Linked DNA regions of Homo sapiens: region 2 is linked to region 1. Evidence: promoter capture Hi-C in human tissues and cell types (Jung and others, 2019). All regions are on one chromosome and are shown on one strand. The core of a region is centred on a gene start or on the middle of the fragment in contact, and the rest is flanking DNA. Distances in the headings are between cores, read along the strand shown.

Region 1 (3,500 bases), core at 507-3,006:
GTAGAGACGGGGTTTCGCCACATTGGCCTGGCTGGTCACAAACCTGTTATTTGAATTCTTTGTATATACTGGGTATTAGTCCTTTGTTGGATGAGTAATTTATAAATATTTTCTCTCAAGTTGTTGCTTCACTCTGTTGTTTCTTTTGCTGTGCAGACACTTTTTAGATTAATATAGTTGTTTATTTTTCTTTTTGTTGCCTGTGCTTTTGAGGTCTTAGCCACAGACCTCAAAAGCACAGGCAAGAAAAAGAAAAATCTTTGCCTAGATCAATGTCCTGAAGAGTTGTCCCGATGTTTCCTTCTATCAGTTTTATAGTTTGGAGTCTTTAAATCTTTAATCTATCTGGAGTTGACTTTTATATATGTTGAGAGAGAAGGGGTCCAAGTTCATTCTTCTGCATATTATTATCCAGTTTTCCCCAGAACCATTTATTAAAGACGTAGTCCTTTCCTCATTGTGTGTTCTTGGCACCTTTGTTGAAAATCAGTTGGCTGTAAATGGGTGCACTGATTTCTGGGTTCTCTTATTCTGTTCCATGGGGGGGTGTGTGTGTCTATTTTTATACAAATATCATGCTCTTTTGGTTACTAACACTTTCTAATTAGATATAAGCTCACTCCAGTTAGAATGATTATTATTATAAAGACAAAAAAATGACAGATGCCAGTGAGGATTTGGGGAAAAGGGAACTCTTATACACTATTGGTGGGAATGTAAATTAGTACAGCCACTATGGAAAACAGTGTGGAGGTTTCTCAAAAAACTAAAAATGGAACTACCATACAATCCAGCAACCCTACTACTGGTAAAGGGAGAGAAATCAGTATATGAAAAGGATACCTGCACTCACGTTTGTCACTGCACTATTTGCAGTAGCCAAGATATAGACTCAACCTACCAGCAATAGATGAATGGGTAAAGAAAATGTCATACATAGACACAATGGAATACTATTCTGCCATAAAAATGAATGAAATAATGTATTCACAGCAACATGGATGGAGCCGAAGGTCATTATGTTAAGTGAAATAAGCCAGGCACAGAAAGACAAGTACTGCATGTTCTCACTTATATTCGGGAGTTAAAACACTTGATCTCATGGACATAGACAACAGGAGGATAGATACCAAAGGCCAGGAAGGCCAGAAAGGAAGGGGAATGAAGAGAGGTTGGTTATGGGTACAAACATACAGTTAGATGGAAGAAATAATTTCTAATATTTAATAGCAGACTAGGGTGACTATACTTGGCAATAATATTGTGTATATTTCAAAGTAAATCGAAGAGAGGGCTTGAAATGATACCAACGCATAAAAATGATAAATGCTTAAGGTGATGGATACCCCAAATACTGTGACTTGATGATCATTACAGTCTATGCACGTAACAAGCACTCACATGGACCCTATACATTATGTAAATTATTTTGTATCAACAGAAAAGTAATCACAACCAGCGGTGGGAGCTACAGCACACTGATCCTCCTAAATGAATCTAATTTCCGGTTTTGTTTTTTCAAACTACTCCGCTTGCTTAACAAGTGCGCGGGCTGTAGGCAGCACGGCCAGCAGCTGGAGACCTCCTGCCTCGTGTGCGGCGTGCGTACTCCCTCGCACTGCAGCCCCTCCGCGCACTGTCGCCTTTGAGAGCTCTCGTTGGCGGAGGCGGTTCCTCTCCCGGAGTTCGCAGCGCGCACCGCGGCGTCCCCTGGGAAGTGTAGTCGGCGTGGGGCCGGAGGCATGCCGGGAGTGGTAGTTCTCCCGCGGTTGGCGGGGTTTCGGGGACAGCTCGCGGCCTTTCGGGGGTTCTCCTGGCTTGGGCCATCCAGGCTTGGCTAGGATTGCCGGCCTGGGGTTGAGGCGCTCGCAGTGGTCTCTTCCGGGCCGGGGTGGATCCGGGCCTCTCCAGCGAGTGGGCGGCGTGCAGCCTCGTCTGGGCTTCTGGGACCAGCCCTACGCGGCTCGGGCCCCTTGGCCACTGGGTCCCGGGGCGCCGTCCGCGAGCGGCCTGGACTGCCGGAGACCCGCGGGAGGGAGCGCCTCGCCAGGTGAGCTGGGTGCGCCGGGCCGCTGGGGTGGGGATGCCAGCCTTTTGTCGTTGTTCATTCTGCGATTTTCTTCTGTGCATTTTCTTCTGAGTAACGGAAATAATAAAAGCAATAGCTGATGCCCGCCGAGAGCGCTCGGGTGCCAGGCACCAGACTAGCGCATCGCCCGAACGAACTCCGCGCATCCCTGCTAACAGATAGGGTGGCGGTACGCTGTTCCCGCTCTGTCAGGAGGAGACCGAGGCAGAGTGGCGAGGTCATTGCCCCAGATGTAACTGGGGCCTGGGGCTAGGATCAGGATTGCCTTCCCGGCCCTTATGACTTTGGGCAGGTCACGACCTCCTGGTTTTCAGTCTCCGTAACATCTGTAAATGTGAAGATTGAAAATACTGCGTGGAAAACACTCACCGCTTCCTGGGAGGAGGTGCGCTTCGTCGCGTAACCGAGGCCTTGTGTGGCAGCTTCCCCTGGGCTGGTCGAGGCACCCGCTGGAACTGGCCTGGCAGAGCCCCAGGTTGGCTCCATGCTAGGGGGCACCCTGAGTCGCCGCTGCAGATCGCGGGCCTGGAGGCCCTCACACTTGCCCGGCTGCCCCAGGCAGCCTCTTCCCTTGCTTTCTGTGGGGCGGGCACGGTTTCCACCTCTCCCACCTGGGGTTGGTGTTTGGGCAGCGACGGCTGTTTCTGGTTGTGGGTGCCATTAGAGGCGGCACCTGTGGAGTATTAGGAGGGACAGCAAAGCTCTGGCTTTGGGTGGGGACAGTGCCTTAATCCTGTTACCTTGGGTAAAGTGTGGTAAGGCCCGACGAAGATCTAGTAAAGAGGCTGGGAAAGCTGAGTGGTTGGATTATGCTCACAGTTTCTTGGGGAGAACACAGCACTCCACGGAAGGACCACTCAGGGCGAGCAGTGGGGTCTGTCACCAGGGTAGGGATGCGGGGAAGCCTCTTTATCGTGGCTACCATAGGGAGGAAAGGGTGAGGCAGGGCAGGCAGGATGAGGATCAGCTAGCTAGGCTGGGAAGTGGCGCCCCAGGAGACTGGATATTCATTGCGACTTTTAGGTGTGCAGTTCAAAGCTAGCGAAGGACTCCAGACATCCATGGGGGAGTCACGGTTTGCCTAGAGGTAGCTGAGAGGCCCGAAGGTGGAAGTTAAAGAGTCCAAGTGCAGAAATAGAAGTAGGGTTGGCACATTGCCCTAGTAAACTAGTAAACACTCTTCTTGCTTTACATCATTACGGGGGGTGGCTTTTTTGAGACCTGATGGACATTATGGGCGGTTGTAACTTCCTCTCTCCAAGCCATCTCCTGACGCCAGGGTTCCTCTTGACACCTTTTTCCTCTGCAGACCCACCGTGTCCACACTCTGCTCTCCCTGGGCAGGAAGACTGAGGAGGAAGGGATGGCTGTGGATCTGCTGTCTGCTCAGGTGAGAGTGAGTGAAGGTTGT
Region 2 (3,735 bases), core at 492-2,991, 350 kb before region 1:
AGAACAGTCTTTTCCTTTCTTTAATACGGAAAACAAGTACTTTTATTCTCACTTCCCCCTTTTGCCTTCCCTCAGTCAAACACATAGGATAAAACATAAGAGATGGTTCAGATCTTTATTTGTGGAGGTATGATTTCCAACTTGTATTGCCACTTAAGCGATTTAAGCGCCAATTACTGAAGCAGAACCGTAGCTCAAAGTGCTGATTTTTCATTAATGAGGGGAGAAACCCTGAATACATTTAAGGCATCCTAACAAAGTTAATACAGGATTCAGGACAAAATCATTAAATACAGGACGTTTGGCAACCCTACCTGTGAGTCAGCTTTCTCCTCACTTGCCACTCTCACCTATTTGCCTATGAAAACCATGCCTTATTTATTCTAATACATGATTATCTGTCTCCTGTTCTCCATCAATGCTGTCCCTGTTTGAGTTGGAACCCTCATTTACCTATTACTTGAATTTAAACAGCCCAGATTTCCTGGGTGGCATCAGTCATCAGCTTTCTTCAACCCCATACGCTTATCTTCTATGGAATTTCCCTTGCTTACCATCTTTGACTCCACCGATTTTACCATAAAATCCAAACTCCTTAGCTTGGCAAATAAGGCCTTTTGTGATTTGGCTTCTGCCTTCTACTCGAGCTTTAACATTTGTCATTTTCCTGCTCACTAGTTCTAAATTAAGTTTTCCAAATGTCCTATTATCCACCTGTGGTTTGGCGCATGCTGTTTCCTCTTAATCGGAATGCTTCTGTCTCCCTCGGAGTTCCTACTATTCTCCCCAAATATAGCCCAGGCATCATTGCCCCTGGAAAGCTTTGATGTCTCCAGGCTTTCTTCATGAGTCTCTTTCTTCATCCTGTGCAAATCTTTACAATATTTTCATAGTGGAACATATTGTCATAACTTATTTGCCTACTGAAACAACAAAAACTGCAATATAATCTGCTTGCTCATTTGCTAGCCCAACTCCATCCCCTTCCCAATTCATGGCTTCTTGAAGAAAAGCCTGTGTCTGTCTTAAAACTTGTACAGTTTTAAAACTTGTAAACTTGTATAGTACCTGCTCCAAAGTTAAAAAATATTTACTGTTGAGAAAAACTTAGGACTGTAATGTCCCCCCTCAAACTGGGAAGGAGCCGAGAGACCAAAGAATGACTCAGACAAGTCCAGCTTGATGAGCAGATGAGTTTATTATGACTTCCATACAGGGCTCTCCTGGACTGCAGCAGGACAGCTCTGGAGATCTGCACCACCTCGCACCTCTAAGCTGCTTTTAAGCCAGTTTTCTGGCTCTTTGCCTCGTGTGTGATTGGACTGTTTGCTTAGTGTGTTCCCAGATACTCTGGGATGTTTGGGTTCTCAGGGACACTTGCTCCTCAGCTGGGCACCATGGCCTCTGCTTACTGTCCAGACTTCAGGGCTCAAGTAGTGGATATAAACCCTTAGGTAACCTGGTAGGGGATCTGTCACACTACACTAAGTTTATGAAACAATTCACATGTCTTGTTTGGGCTGCTGTAACAAAATAACCTCATCATACTAGGTAACTAATAAAATATTTCTCACAGTTCTGGAGGCTGGGAAACCCATTTAAAGTGCTAGCAGGTTTGGTGTCTGGTTATGGCCATCTTGATTCAAAGAAGGTATCTTACCACTGTGCCTTCACATGGCTGAAGGGCAGAACAAGCTCCCTTGGGGCTCTCTGATAAGGGCACTGAGGGCTCCGCCCTTCTGATCTGATCACCTCTTCACACATCCCACTTCATGATACCATCACCTTGGAGGTTAGCATTTGAACACAGGGATTTGGGGGAGACATAAACATTGAGACCATAGCAATGTCCTTTTCAAGAGTTTGCCACAGGTGTTAGATTTGCGAAAGTTCTTCTGATGTGTTCGTTATAAATTTAAAAAATACATATTTAGGGTGGCCGGGCACGGTGGCTCACACCTGTAATCCCAGCACTTTGGGAGGCCGTGGCAGGCAGATCACCTGAGGTCAGGAGTTCAAGACCAGCCTGGCCAACATGGAGAAACCCTGTCTCTACTAAAAATACAAAATAGCCGGGTGTGGTGGCAGGTGCCTGTAATCCCAGCTACTCGAGAGGCTGAGGCAGGAGAATTGCTTGAACCTGGGAGGCGGAGGTTGCAGTGAGCCGAGATCGCACCATTGCACTCCAGCCTGGGTGACAGAGACTCCATCTCAAAATAAAAATAATAATAATAAATACATACATACATATTTAGTAGCTTTAAACCTGAAATTATTGCCTGTTTTTCTATCTAATACAGTTCAGGGCATATAACTGGTACACCTAATAAATGACTTCAGAGAAATAAAATCCAAAACCAAGTTAAGACAGTTGAGTAGAAAATTCACAACTACTAGAACAAAAGACCAGATTTTTCTTTTTCTTTTTTAATGAAATCCATGCATAAGTTTGACATCAGGGTAGGAAAAGGACAAACCCCAGAGACTGAGAGGTAGTTCATAATTCATTTTTCTTTTATTTTGGTCCTTTTCTCTAAAAAGGTACAATTTGATCAAGCTATTAAAATGCTATAAAAATATTACCAGTTTGGTGGTCTTCTAATGAGAAATCTAAAGCACACCTCCCCACCCACTCGGATATCTGTTTCTGATGATCACGTGACATCTAGCATATACGTCTGTAGGAAAAGGGAAAAAGCAAACCCATTTCACAAATGGCTAAAGTCAATGTCTTCAATTGTAAATTCTTCATCTCAGGTTATTTTTTTAAGTGTCTGACAGGCACAAACACTTTCCTCATATCTATTATATAGCTGAGGTTTATCCATGGAATTAAATACCTAATGAGGGCTAAATTATTACAGTTTTTTTCACATCCATTACATTTATTACATCTCTCTCAAGGATGTATTCTTCGATGAGCTTTGGTTTAAGGCTTTCACACATACAAATCTACTTTCTAGGGGTCCTCTTCGATATGAATTTTATAATGATTAGTAAGGGATGACCTATGGTTGAAAAGTTTCCCACATGTATTACATTCATAGGGTTTCTCTCCAGTATGAATTCTCTGATGTGCAATACGTGATGAGCTTTGTCTAAAAGTTTTTCCACATGTATTACATTTAAAGGGTTTTTCTCCTGTATGAATCCTTCGATGCTGAATAAGAGCTGAACTTTGGCCAAAAGATATCCCACATTCCTCACATCGATATGGTTTCTCTCCAGTATGAATTCTCTGGTGATTACTAAGTGATGAGTTACACCTGAATGTTTTCCCACACTCGTTACATTTATAGGGTCTTTCTCCAGTATGCATTCTCTGATGTTGAATGAGAGCTGAACTCTGTCTGAAGGCTTTTCCACATACTTTACATTTACATGGTTTTTCTCCAGTATGAATTCGCTCGTGAATAATAAGTGTTGAGTGGGAGCTTAAGGCTTTACCACATTCATTACAATTATAAAACTTCTCTCCAGTATGAATGATTCGGTGTCTATTAAGTCGTGAAATAGAAGTAAAGCCTTTCCCACATTCATTGCATCTATAGGGCTTTTCTCCGGTGTGAATTCTTTCATGTTGAATAAGAGAGGCACTCTGGCTGAAGGCTCTCCCACATTCACTACATTTAAAAGGCTTCTCTCCAGTGTGAATTCTCTGATGATAACGAAGGGATGAGCTAGACTTAAAGGTGTTGCCACATTCATTACATAAGTAGGACTTCTTTCTAGAAT

Evidence for each region. The method cuts DNA at HindIII sites, captures the fragments that hold promoters and counts their contacts. A contact is called where the count stands out against the background at its distance.
Region 2: a fragment that was not itself captured here is called in contact with the fragment with the promoter of ZNF354C in region 1 in 1 of the 25 tissues and cell types used here (dorsolateral prefrontal cortex).

Annotation. Positions count from the first base shown.
Region 1 is chr5:179,058,617-179,062,116 of GRCh38, forward strand. ZNF354C (zinc finger protein 354C) reads left to right here and starts at 1,757. Exons shown (of 5, transcript NM_014594.3): 1 at 1,757-2,050; 2 at 3,399-3,479. The coding sequence starts at 3,453. RefSeq lists an enhancer at 2,076-2,611. The HindIII fragment of the contact is 19,620 bases long and covers 1-3,500 here.
Region 2 is chr5:178,709,101-178,712,835 of GRCh38, forward strand. ZNF354A (zinc finger protein 354A) reads right to left here. Exons shown (of 5, transcript NM_005649.3): 5 at 2,412-3,735. The coding sequence ends at 2,960. Among named protein-coding and RNA genes, the nearest start is that of MSANTD5, 13 kb to the left of the region's middle. The HindIII fragment of the contact is 7,128 bases long and covers 1-3,735 here.